2 separate regions of the Homo sapiens genome follow, and region 1 is linked to region 2. The links are contacts of gene promoters, found by promoter capture Hi-C in human tissues and cell types (Jung and others, 2019). All regions are on one chromosome and are shown on one strand. Each heading gives the region's core, a stretch centred on a gene start or on the middle of the fragment in contact. The rest is flanking DNA. Distances are from core to core; before and after follow the strand shown.

What was found. The method cuts DNA at HindIII sites, captures the fragments that hold promoters and counts their contacts. A contact is called where the count stands out against the background at its distance.
Region 1: a contact is called between a fragment that was not itself captured here and the fragment with the promoter of AGO4 in region 2, in 1 of the 25 tissues and cell types used here (heart right ventricle).

The regions. Positions count from the first base shown.
Region 1 is chr1:35,447,218-35,453,098 of GRCh38, reverse strand. It overlaps KIAA0319L (KIAA0319 like), which reads left to right. Exons shown (of 21, transcript NM_024874.5): 13 at 1,323-1,471; 14 at 2,590-2,741; 15 at 3,094-3,232; 16 at 4,767-4,926. Among named protein-coding and RNA genes, the nearest start is that of ZMYM4-AS1, 84 kb to the right of the region's middle. RefSeq lists a silencer at 1,820-1,999. The HindIII fragment of the contact is 6,659 bases long and covers 885-5,881 here.
Region 2 is chr1:35,803,528-35,809,639 of GRCh38, reverse strand. It overlaps AGO4 (argonaute RISC component 4), which reads right to left and starts at 1,624. Exons shown (of 18, transcript NM_017629.4): 1 at 1,205-1,624. The coding sequence starts at 1,223. It overlaps CLSPN-DT (CLSPN divergent transcript), which reads right to left. Exons shown (of 3, transcript NR_199050.1): 3 at 2,700-2,895. RefSeq lists enhancers at 572-851, 1,951-2,450, 4,868-4,917 and silencers at 1,002-1,251, 1,532-1,741. The HindIII fragment of the contact is 21,017 bases long and covers 1-6,112 here.

The sequences.
Region 1 (5,881 bases), core at 2,965-5,464, 360 kb after region 2:
CAATTAAGTTAGCCAGAGGCCAAAGGCGGTAATCAAAATAATTCTAATTACATAGAAATTACCTAACTGAACCATTCTTAGTTCCTGTAGTTTCTTTTAGCTCCTTTAAAGCATAACTAATGCAACTGAAATTATATGCAGGATCCCACAAGTAGCAAAAGAATTCTAAGAAGAGTTAAAAGTATTCTCTGTTTCCAAAGGTAGCAACCATAGGACAGCCTGGGTTTTTTTTTGTATTGTGTTTGTTTGTTTGTTTGTTTGTTTGTTTGTTTGACAAAGGCATTGGAGATGGGTGGAAAAGAACTTTAATTTGACTATACAAATGACTTGCTTTTGAGATTGCTGAGTTGGAATCTAGAAATTATTTCCCTCAGCTCTTGTTTTTATCTTTTGTAGAACATAATCTTACCCAGCCCAGGGTGTTTTTAATTATAATTGTTTATTGAAGATATGGCTGATAGACCTTTTAGCTGAGTTTTATTAGTGTTTACAGCAGAGATAATGCTTAGCATAGCTTCTTGAAGGAGACTGTGCTTCAGGAGGAGCTACCAGGATCAGAGGCTGTAACTTTAAAAGGCAAAACAAAGTAAATCCTGGATGTCTGCAGATTTCTCTGGCTTTCCTGTAGTTAAAAGCTCTGGGGCATTTTGATCCTTGAGCAGAGGGCTCTCTGGCTGTGTGCAGCCTGAATGTTGGCACAGAGCTCCCTTGGCTGCTGCAGGCAAGTCTCTGAGGCCACAAGGGGGAAGAAGGGTTGTAGGGTGTCCTAGGTGCTTGATGGCCCCTGTCCAGGAGCTGGAGGGAACTTTGCTTATAGAGTTGCTACAAACAAGATGATTTTGTCCTGAGAGTTCCTCTGCAGTCTTGCCCCATTTCCTTTTCTTTCATCAGGAAGGATTTGGGCACGTGATTAAGAAATGCATTTTGCTTCCTTGCTGGCAAGAGCCAAACCAACTACTGGGCCAGAAATGCTTTTTAGAAACATCACTCTTAAATCATTCTTTTGATCAGAGACTTGCTCAGAGAACTTTCTTCCTTTTACAAACTAGAATGGTAAAGCGTTCAAGTGTTCTAGAAGCTCATATAAAGGATAAGGCTAGAGGTGTTTGAAAGCTATTTGAATTTTCTGACCAGCAGGCAGCCTGTATTTTGAGGCCAAATGACACTTTGTCCAATTGAAATATTTTTAAACATGTCTTGTCAAGGTCTGGGTAACAGTAGTTCGTGTCTTTGCTGAGGGAGTCATTGTCTCCTCCTGCTAAGTTAGGGACAGGACAGCAGCAGACAGGTACAACTCTACCCTCTAGTTTCTTTTTTTGCAGGGGACCTGATGGGGTGCAGCTCGAGAATGCTAACAGCAGTGTTGCTACTGTGACTGGGCTGCAAGTGGGGACCTATGTGTTCACCTTGACTGTCAAAGATGAGAGGAACCTGCAAAGCCAGAGCTCTGTGAATGTCATTGTCAAAGAAGGTACCTCTCTGCCTCCAGTTTGTGTAGCAGCCTCTTAGGGTCAGATAGCTGAAGAATTTATCCTGTCATGTTTGCCTGCAGAAATTGATTAGAGATAGCAAGAGGTGGGTAAGAGGGTTGGGGTGAGGGCAATTGTTATTTTCTTTTCTAAAACAGCCTTTAATTGGACTGTAAGGTGAATTTTAACTTCCCTCCCTCCTCCTGCTTACATCTTCCCTTCCCTCTCATCCCCTTACTTTCTTTTCAGTCCTCCCTCCTTCCCTCCTTACTTTATTTCTCAGTTGAATAGGGAAAGAATTAAGGGTTCTATTCTTTGCATTTTTATTTTGCCCCTCTGCATTGCTGAGACCTGGGCCGTGACTCCTGTTAGCTACAGTGACACCTGCTGTCAGGCTTGAGAATGACGGCCGCACTACAGCTGACTATGCTTGCCCTGAGCCTTTGAGCTGAGGCCAGCCAGAGGCCTTGCTCTAGTTTACAGGCACAGTGACCAGTGAGAGCTGTGGGAGAGGGCCTTAAGTTGAGGGCCTTAAGTTGATAGCAGGAAAAACCATCAGATATGCAGACCTCCAGACATAAGATACCAAGCTGAGTAAATACTGCACAGACATCTGAATATACAGAGCTTCACGTGGGGCTCCGAATAAGAGAGGTAGCTCTTTGTTTTCTCTTGTGAAGTTCCAAGGAAGGGGTCCAAAAAGATATTCAGAGAATAACATTTTAAGATATTTTGAAGGAGAATTTGCAAGATCAGCTAGGTGAAACCTAAACTCCAAGGTTTTAAGCCAGTTTGGGCCGTTATTTCTGATCATCACATACCTCCAAAGCAGAGAAATGGATTCCATTTGGGAAGGCTGCTGGGAGAATATGAGAGGAAAGCACACTCGTCCCCTCTGTTGTACAGTGTTAGGAGAACATTTCTCTGGGTAGGACTGGAACCTCAGGACTGCAGCGCTGGTAGCTTTCATCTACACTGTTGGTTGGTGGCAGGGACAGGCACTTAAAAAGGTTCTCCAGTTAAGGTACTCTTGATGTTTTAATTTCCCCATAAGCATCATGAAGAAACATTTCTTCTTTTCCAGAATGTCACATTATGTCAATGATTTCTTTTTGATTAGAAATAAACAAACCACCTATAGCCAAGATAACTGGGAATGTGGTGATTACCCTACCCACGAGCACAGCAGAGCTGGATGGCTCTAAGTCCTCAGATGACAAGGGAATAGTCAGCTACCTCTGGACTCGAGATGAGGGGAGCCCAGCAGCAGGGGTAAGTGTGCTAGGAGCTGGAGAGCTACACAGGAGTGGGGAGGAGGAGGAGCCACGCGTTCCAGTATATGCTTTAATCAAGTGGTCCCTTATATCAAACCCAGATTGTTCTCTGAAATCCAGGGAGGTGAAGTGACTTGCTTAGGGTCATTCTGTAAGCTAGTATAGCACAGAATGGGTTTCCCTTCCCTGATCCTAGCAGTTGTAGGCTGCAATGCTGTTCCGTATCAGGAACTGCCCAAGGTTGAAACAGTTCAGCCCTGAAGGGCCTAGTTATGGTGAAAGCAGCAACTGACTCCAGGAAAGGAATGGCATTTTGTTCTGTAACATAGCCATGTTGTTCAACCCTACAGGAGGTGTTAAATCACTCTGACCATCACCCTATCCTTTTTCTTTCAAACCTGGTTGAGGGAACCTACACTTTTCACCTGAAAGTGACCGATGCAAAGGGTGAGAGTGACACAGACCGGACCACTGTGGAGGTGAAACCTGGTGAGTTCATTTAGTGATGAGGCTGAGTAGAATTGCTGAATCAGCCAATCAAGGCCTCTATCCTGAGATCCCCTTCCCCGAGCATGGACAGAGCCAGATGGCATGTCCAGCTTTAAAAATAATCGAGAAACCCCAAGCTGAAAAATCCATAGAGACCGTCTGTTCCAATAATACCTCCTACCCATGCAGAAATACAGACCTCCCCCTATTCATCTCAGATGGAGAAACAAACTCAGAGAGGGCAGGACTTGCTCAGTGTCACACAGCAGTTGTGTCAGAGCCAGGCCTTTGTGCTCGTAGTCCAGCACTTTCTCCTCTCCTCGTGACTGATGAGAGAGGGCTCAGAGTGCTTGGGAATCTGAGCATGGGAATAGCTTGAGTCATGATGTCTCATCAGCATCCAGATGCAGAAAACAATTTATTTTTATAAGTTGAGCCTCAGGCCTTGTCTGATAATCCAGGGAAGGTAAAGTAATAGTGCTCTTTACATTTTTCAGCTTTGCAGAAATAAAAATTTTCTTCTTAAATAGAACCATGTTTTTATTTTGCTTTGAGATTAATATGGTGATAGGGAGGCACTGAGTATGGAGGTGGGATAGAGCTGTATAAATTCCTGAGCTTCTGATGAAATGGTATTAACTTTAAACCTACTCTTTATTATCTAGGCCAACCTCATATATGGATGTTTTGGACAGGAAGGGATCTTGGGAGGTCTTCCAGTCCTTGTCCTGCCTCTAGGAAGGACAGTAGCTGAGACACTATAAAATCTCTTTGGTGTTTAAAGTCAGATCACAGATAGTCTACTAATTATGCAAATTATACATCAGAACAGGCAAGTGGTGCATTCAAGTATGTAAATAAGGCATTCCAAACAATCAGTTTGAAATTCCAAATGTAGAACATCTTTAGGACATATTCAAAAGTAAAACATGATAGCCTCACCGTTTTAGAGTTATACAAAGATAGTGCAGCTGTGATGTGGCTCTAAGGAAATCCTTGTGTCTTGGCTGACTGGATTTTCTTTTGTTAACTGTATTTAAACCTGGAGGGACGGATGCATTCCCATTATTGAGGAGGTTGTTGAGATGGACACTTTTCCTCCCATTGTTGTGCACAAAATACAGCGAGGCACTGAAAATCAGATGTGAGTCAGGAGAGATTGCTTAATAACCCCCACTTGGCCTGGATTGCTCAGCACTGCCAGTTGCACAGAGGCTTTTAAAACAAATGTTTAAGTGTTTCTCTCTTCCCCACTCCCGTCATTACTCCCCACCCCTCATTGCATCACTGCTTCAGCCTTATCCCCAGCACATGTGTGGGAATTCTCAGGTTGGTATAGAGAGCAGGAGTGCTTTAGAAGCTTTCTAAGCCAGCCCCAGATTGCCCGATCAGGAATTCACTATTGTCCCTTTCCATTTGAAGGATATCTGAATGTTCTCACTCCTTTCTCTCCTGTGCCAAAGCAAATGCACAGTGGCAGGTCTGTGTTTACTCTCCTACTTCTAAAGCCATGACTGATCCACATGCTTTCCAGATCCCAGGAAAAACAACCTGGTGGAGATCATCTTGGATATCAACGTCAGTCAGCTAACTGAGAGGCTGAAGGGGATGTTCATCCGCCAGATTGGGGTCCTCCTGGGGGTGCTGGATTCCGACATCATTGTGCAAAAGATTCAGCCGTACACGGAGCAGAGGTAGCTGGGCAATGAATGGGGGGAGCAAAGGAAAGACCAGGGGCCCCCGGGCTTCTTGAATGAGCTGAGAAATAGTGTGGTTAGATAGAGAAAGGTGGGCTTTCTGACCAGAAACACTCATGTTGCCTTTTCTTCAATAGACTTCTGTCTTCTAGTGCAGGTGACATGCGCTGTACTAGACACTTCAGCAGGGCTCCAGGGTGTAGGAGGTCAACTATTTTGACAACCACAGTCTAGTAGAGGAGATAAGTAAATATGGAACATTAGTACGGTGTGGGTTTGGTACAACAAGCGGCATTGTGGAACACTGTGGCAAGGACAATGAATTCTTCTAGGAGAGTTGGGGTAGGAGTAATCCAAAGATTTTTCTAGAATAAAGAAAACTTCAACCTGGGCAACATAACAAGACCCCACCTCTACAGAAGATTTAAAAATTAGCCAGGTGCAGTGTGGTTCGCCTGTAGTCCAAGCTATTTGGGAAGCTGAGGCAGGAGAATTACTTGAGCCCAGGGGTTTGAGGCTGCAGTGAGCTCTGATCACACCACTGCACTCCAGCCTGGAAGACAGAGTGAGACTGTCTCAAGAAAAAAAAAAAAAAGAAAAAAAAAGGGGAAAAGGAAACTTATATTGACCAGGCATGGGAGGATGGGGAGGAAATTCAGAACAGGGCAACAGCATTGAGCAATGGCCCTGTGGTATGAAAGTACACAGTTTCTTCCAGAAGAAGTCACTTGGTTCAAGCTTAGTGGCCCCAGGATGTGGTAGAAGACAAGACTGGCAGTGGAGATTGAGAACAGTTATATGCAAGCTGAGGATCTTAGTTTTAATAGTTTGGGTAGGCAGATCCAAGTTGGTTTGTTTTATGTGTGTGAAGTTTTTGTTTTGTTTTTAAAAGCAAGGAATTTCCATAATTTGATTTTTTTTTTTTTTTTTTTAAAGAAAGATCAGTAGTGTG
Region 2 (6,112 bases), core at 375-2,874:
ACCTGGCATAATACACTGAAGTTTATCAAACAATATTAATGCGGCAAGCCAATTTATTTTTAAAAGGCATATGAAATTTGATTATGAGGGCCTTTAAACAATACTTTAAGAAGCAAATTAGGGTGGGGCTTAATCACTCAGCTATGCAAACAAGTGCTAAGTAAACAAACGTGCCAAGTTTCCAAACTCAAATGGCAACTCGAATTTTCTACGCACTAAAAAGATGAAACACTCTACGACTAAGTTCATTATGTAGGTAAAGTTTGAATATTAAAGTGAATTCCACCACAGCCCCTAAACACTGAGCTACTTAGCCAAGGCATTAGAAACCTGTTGGGCTTTGAGGTGGAAGCACCAGGCCCCAATACTCAGGACACTTGTTACAGCCTGGAATGGTTCTTCTGGTTTGGATAGAGAGAAATAACCAGAGGCCATCCATATCCACAACAAATTAGTTTCCAAAGCACTTTCTCCTTCATTTGATCCTCACAACCACTCATAACCCAATTAGAAGAGAACTCAGGGCATTGAAGCCTGTGGTGGAGCAGACTGACTGGCAACTCCTGTGTCACTCAAAGGCTGGCTCAGACCACTCTGAGACTAACACACAGACTGAGTGACAGAGGCACAGGACCATGTTCTTTGGGACATCAGGGCCTTTCAGAAAGGGTGGGCATTTTGTCCCTTGACCTTCAGAGATCATGAGAGGTGTTTGGATGAAGTTCTTCTTCCTCATCTGAAGGCTCTGGACCATCTGCCAGTGCAAAGAAAAATAGGGGCGCGGCCCCAAACCAGGACTACCGGCTGGTAGTAGGCAGCGGGGCCCTTTTCCCGGTCTGGGCCAGGCCTCCGCGCGCACTGGGTAGCGGATCGCCCCCTTCTGAGGCCCAAACTACCCTCGTCGCGACCCCGGGCACATATCGTCTCCCCGAGGTGGGGCCAAGAGTGGCCTCCGCCCGGCAGCGCCGGTCACCTTCCCGAACCTCCCCCCTGGACCTCGGGATCCACCCAACGGCCGGCTGGGGCGCGGTCACCGCCCCCCAGGCCCGGGTCAGCTCCCTCCGCTTCGTGCTGCGGGGCTCGGGTCCCCTTCCCCGAGGCCTGGCGGCCCGAACCCGGCGAGGCGACGGGGCAGCGAAAGTCCCGGCCGCCCGCCCCGGGTCCCGGGTCCCGGGTCCCGCCCCGACCCGAGCTCGCTCCTCACCGGGTCCCAGCGCCTCCATGGCGGCGGCGGGGGCCGCCTCGCCCCGGTCCCCGGCGCCTCCCGCTCCGGGCCCCGCCGCCGCCGCCGCCGCCGCCGCGTAACGCTTGATCTCCGGAATATTGGCGCTGGGGTGGCGCCGCGGAGACGCGGGCGCTGGGCAGGGGGCGGCGGCGGCGCCCGGCCCGGGGACAGGGACCCGGCTCCGGCTCTTCCGGCCTCAGCGACAACAAAAACAATCCCCGCCGCCGCCGCCGCCGCCGCCGCCAACGGGAGCGGGAGCGGGAGCCAGCGCGCGCGCCCGCCGGGAGGGAAGGGGGCGCGGGGTGCGCGGACCCAGGGTCCCGGCGGGCGGAGGGGGCGTGCGCGGCCCCGGGCGCGGGGTCCACAGAGCCCGGCAGGCGGCGAGGCGGGTCGGGGAACGAGCGCGCGCCCGGAGGGTGCAGAGCCCGGTGGACGTGTCGGGCACGCGCCCGCTGGCCCGCTCTGCCCCGTCCACCCGAGGAGGCCGTCCGGTGGCCAACGGCTCTGGGGGCTACGTGCCATCCCCCCAGGGCGTCCTGCAAAAGATCTGGATTCCAGTTCCGCTGACCCACAGATTCAGTTTTCCACTTCTGTGAGTGGAAAGTGTACTGAGATTCACAGGAGCCACCTCGCCTCCCTCCTCCCTCCTCCCACCCCAGATCGCTTCTGTCATCTCGTCTTTTAGGGTCACCTTAGACGCTAGCAGTCCTCCTTCATCCCTTCATTCAGCACCACACACCCAACTGCGCGTCCCTCTCCGTATAGCCGGAAGGCACCACGGGAATGGACCCTGATGAATGATGCATTCCCTCCCTGGTCCCATGACAAGCGCCTCTGGTCAGCAAATCACCAGTCACTTTAGAAGAGAAAGGTCTTGGCCGGGCGTGGTGGCTCACGCCTGTAATACCAGCACTTTGGGAGGCGGAGGCGGGTGGATCACCTGGGGTCAGGAGTTTGAGACCATCCTGGCCAACATGGCGGAAGCCCATCTCTACTAAAAACACAAAAAATTAGCCGGGCGTGGAGGCAGGCGCCTGTAATCCCAGCTACTTGGGAGGCTGAGGCAGGAGAATCGCTTGAACCCGGGAGGCAGAGGTTTCAGTGAGCCGAAATCGGGCCACTGCACTCCAGCCTGGGCGACAGAGCAAGACTGTCTGAAAAAAAAAAAATAAAAATAAAAGAGAGAGAGAGAGAGAAAGGTCTTGCTTTCTTGGATGCCTTCCCCTTAGCAGACAAAAGCCAAGGGAGCAGCACCACCTCCAAGGCAGCATGGTCAGCCCAGCAGGCACAGCATCTTTAGGGCTTTCAGTAAGGACTTTGAGTGGGAGAACACTGGACAACAGGCCAAGAAGCAGTTTCTAGTCAGCAGAAGGAAGGAGCCCCTTGTCCACCAATTGAAAAGGTACGATGAGTTTGTGTGTGTGTGTTGTATTCCTTTGCTACGGCATAACGTAACAAAGTACCACAGACTGGGTGGCTTAAACAACAGAAATTTATTTTCTCACAATTCTGGAGGCTGGCAGTCAGAGATACGATGTAGGCAGGGTTGGTTCCTTCTGAGGCCTATCTCCTTCACTTGGTAGATAGTGGCCTTCTCCCAGTGACTTCACGTGGTCTTCCCTCTGTGCACGTCTGTGTCCAAATTTCCTCTTCTTATAAGGACAGCAGTCCTATTAGAGTAGGGCTCACTCTAGTGACCTCGTTTTAATTTAATTACCTCTTCAGAGACCCTGTTTCCAATTACAGTCACATCCTGGGGTGCTAGAGTTAGGACTTCAATATACAAATTATTGGGGTGGGGGATAATTTAGGCCCCTAGCATGTGTGGTGGGATATTCATTTGAGCACCTGCCATGTGCTGTCACAGAGCCAGGTAGTTTTTTTATGTAATGATAAAAAATATTAGCATCACATCCTGGCCATGCACTCTGCTATGGGCTTCTCATTGTCACTCAATCTTTACAACCACCAGTAAGGTAGATATTGTTAAGAAAGGTATTTGTACAGATGATGACACCGAAGCTCAGGGAAGTTAAGTAAGTCGGGCTTTGCATTACATGATGCTGAAGTGAAGCATGGGAAAAATTGGAGTTCAAATCTTGCATTTAAGTCCTGGCTAATTCTCTCCCTGATTGGCTATGGAACTAGGACTTTTATTTTTTTATTTTTTATTTTTTGAGACGGAGTCTCGCTCTGTCGCCCAGGCTGGAGTGCAGTGGCGCCATCTCGGCTCACTGCAAGCTCCGCCTCCCGGGTTCACGCCATTCTCCTGCCTCAGCCTCCCAAGTAGCTGGGACTACAGGCGCCCGCTACCACGCCCGGCTAAATTTTTTTTTGTATTTTTAGTAGAGACGGGGTTTCACCGTGTTAGCCAAAATGGTCTCGATCTCCTGACCTTGTGATCCGCCCGCCTCAGCCTCCCAAAGTGCTGGGATTACGAGCTTGAGCCACCGCGCCCGGCCGGAACTGGGACTTTTAATCTAGTGCCTACATTCTTGTCTACTGATACCATACCCTATATTCTTTTATTTTTTTTGACCCGGAGTCTCGCTCTGTCGCCCAGGCTTGGGTGCAGCAGCGCGATCTCGGCTCACTGCAAGCTCCGCCTCCCGGGTTCACATCATTTTCCTGCCTCAGCCTTCCGAGTAGCTGGGACTACAGGTGCCCGCCACCACGCCCGGCTAATTTTTTGTATTTGTAGTAGAGACGGGGTTTCACCATATTAGCCAGGATGGTCTCGATCTCCTGACCTCGTGATCCGCCCGCCTCGGCCTTCCAAACTGCTGGGATTACAGGCGTGAGCCACCATGCCCGGCCACCATACTCTATATTCTTTTCACAGCATCATGCTACCTCTCTGTTAAACCAGATAGTAACTGGAAATAGTAATAGGGGACAGAATGTTCAAAGGGGAGAAAGTATTTACTAAACGATCAGACTGCTGCACAGCTAAGAAAAGAAAAACCAACTAGAGTTGGCCGGGCGCGGTGGCTCACGCCTGTAATCCCAGCACTTTGGGAGGCCGAGGCAGGCGGATCATGAGGTCAGGAGATCGAGACCATCCTGTCTAACACAGTGAAACCCCGTCTCTACTACAAATACAAAAAATTAGCCGGGTGTGGTGGCGGGCGCCTGTAGTCCCAGCTACTCTGGAGACTGAGGCGGGAGAATGGCGTGAACCTGGGAGGCGGAGCTTGCAGTGAGCTGAGATCAGGCCACTGCACTCCAGCCTGGGCGACAGAGCGAGACTCCGTCTCAAAAAAAAAAAGAAAAAAAAAAGAAAAACCAACTAAAGTTCAAGTTTTTCACTTCACGCTAAGTTCCACCTACAGTTTAAACAATGCCGGTGTCTCCAATAGCCTGGTTTGTGGCTGACTCTCCCAACCCCACTTCCTAACAAAATTTCTCTATATTCTATTTGCTACCCTGAGCAGAGACCACAGCTTGTTCCCTGGACTGAAAATAGTTTTTCCACTAGCTTTAGAGGCTGAAGTATGAAATTTATTCACCCCATAGTTCCAGTTGGGACCGAAATGTCTCACTCAACAGAGTGATTCTTGATTACTCTGATCATCTACCTTCTCATTTCAAAACTCACTCTCACTCAAACACCCACTGTTCCTTTTCCAAAAACTATTCCTACAGAACCCTCCCAAACCAAATTTCTGTAGTCAATAAACTCCTCTAAACCTTGGCCTGCTCAGCAAGCCCTCCCTCCACTTCCTGCTGTGGCTGAGAAGCCATGACCCAGAATGTCACTTCCCCTGCAGCTCTCTCTGATGGTGGTTGCTCATTCTTCCACATCGCACATGCCTCCAGGACAGGGTAGGGCATGAGTAAAGAATTGACAACATATTTGCCCCATCATACGAAACTTTGAATTCTTATTTTCATATTAAAACCATTTGCCGGTCGGGCGCAGTGGCTCACGCCTGTAATCCCAGCACTTTGGGAGGCCGAGGCAGGCGGATCACGAGGTCAGGAGATCAAGACCATCCTGGCTAACACGGTGAAACCCCCTCTACTAAAAATACAAAAAAATTAGCCAGGCGTGGTAACACGCGCCTGTAGTCCCAGCTACTTGGGAGGCTGAAGCAGGATAATCGCTTGAATCCTGGAGGCGGAGGTTGCGGTGTGAGCCGAGATCCCGCCACTGCACTCCAGCCTGGGTGACAGAGAGAGACTCCGTCTCAAAAAATAAATAAATAAAATAACTAAATAAGTAAATAAAACCATTTGCCATCTAGCCACACCATCACAGAGCCTCCTTTGGGGGTACAGTTAACTCAACTCCTGGTCTTATGTTTCATTCCAGGCCTGGCTCCCATGATAGTGAAAATCCTTGAGGGCAGGGCTCATTCAAGCATTCAGGTTTGTTCTCTGTTGTCCACCAACCTACCAGGCACCAAATGACTATTTGTGGACATTTATGGAGTGAATGAATGAATAAGTGAATGTATAAATTGTGGAAGCTACAAATGGTCCAGTAGAGGGGCCAAGGTGAAAAACTCTGGGTGAGGTGCCAGCTTCTCTAGAGCACAGATTTTCAAATCAGATGGTCCTGGGTGCAAATCCCAGTTCCTTAATGCACAAGCTCTGAGTGTCTCAGGTATGTCTCATCACCTACTGCTTAAGGATGTCTTGAGGAGGAAGTTAAATTATATATGTGCCTGCTCCTGTGTATCTGGCACAGAGATAGTTACTAGTTCTCCTTCCTTCCTACTGTTCCCCCTCCAAAAAGTCACAATGTGATGTCTCTCTTCTCCCATGCTGCTGTCATGCTGTCCTTTGAGAGACACTGAGCTCAAGATCTCAGCTGAGTCAAGAAAGGAAAGCAGCCTGTAATCCCAGCACTTTGGGAGGCCAAGGTGGGCAGATCACCTGAGG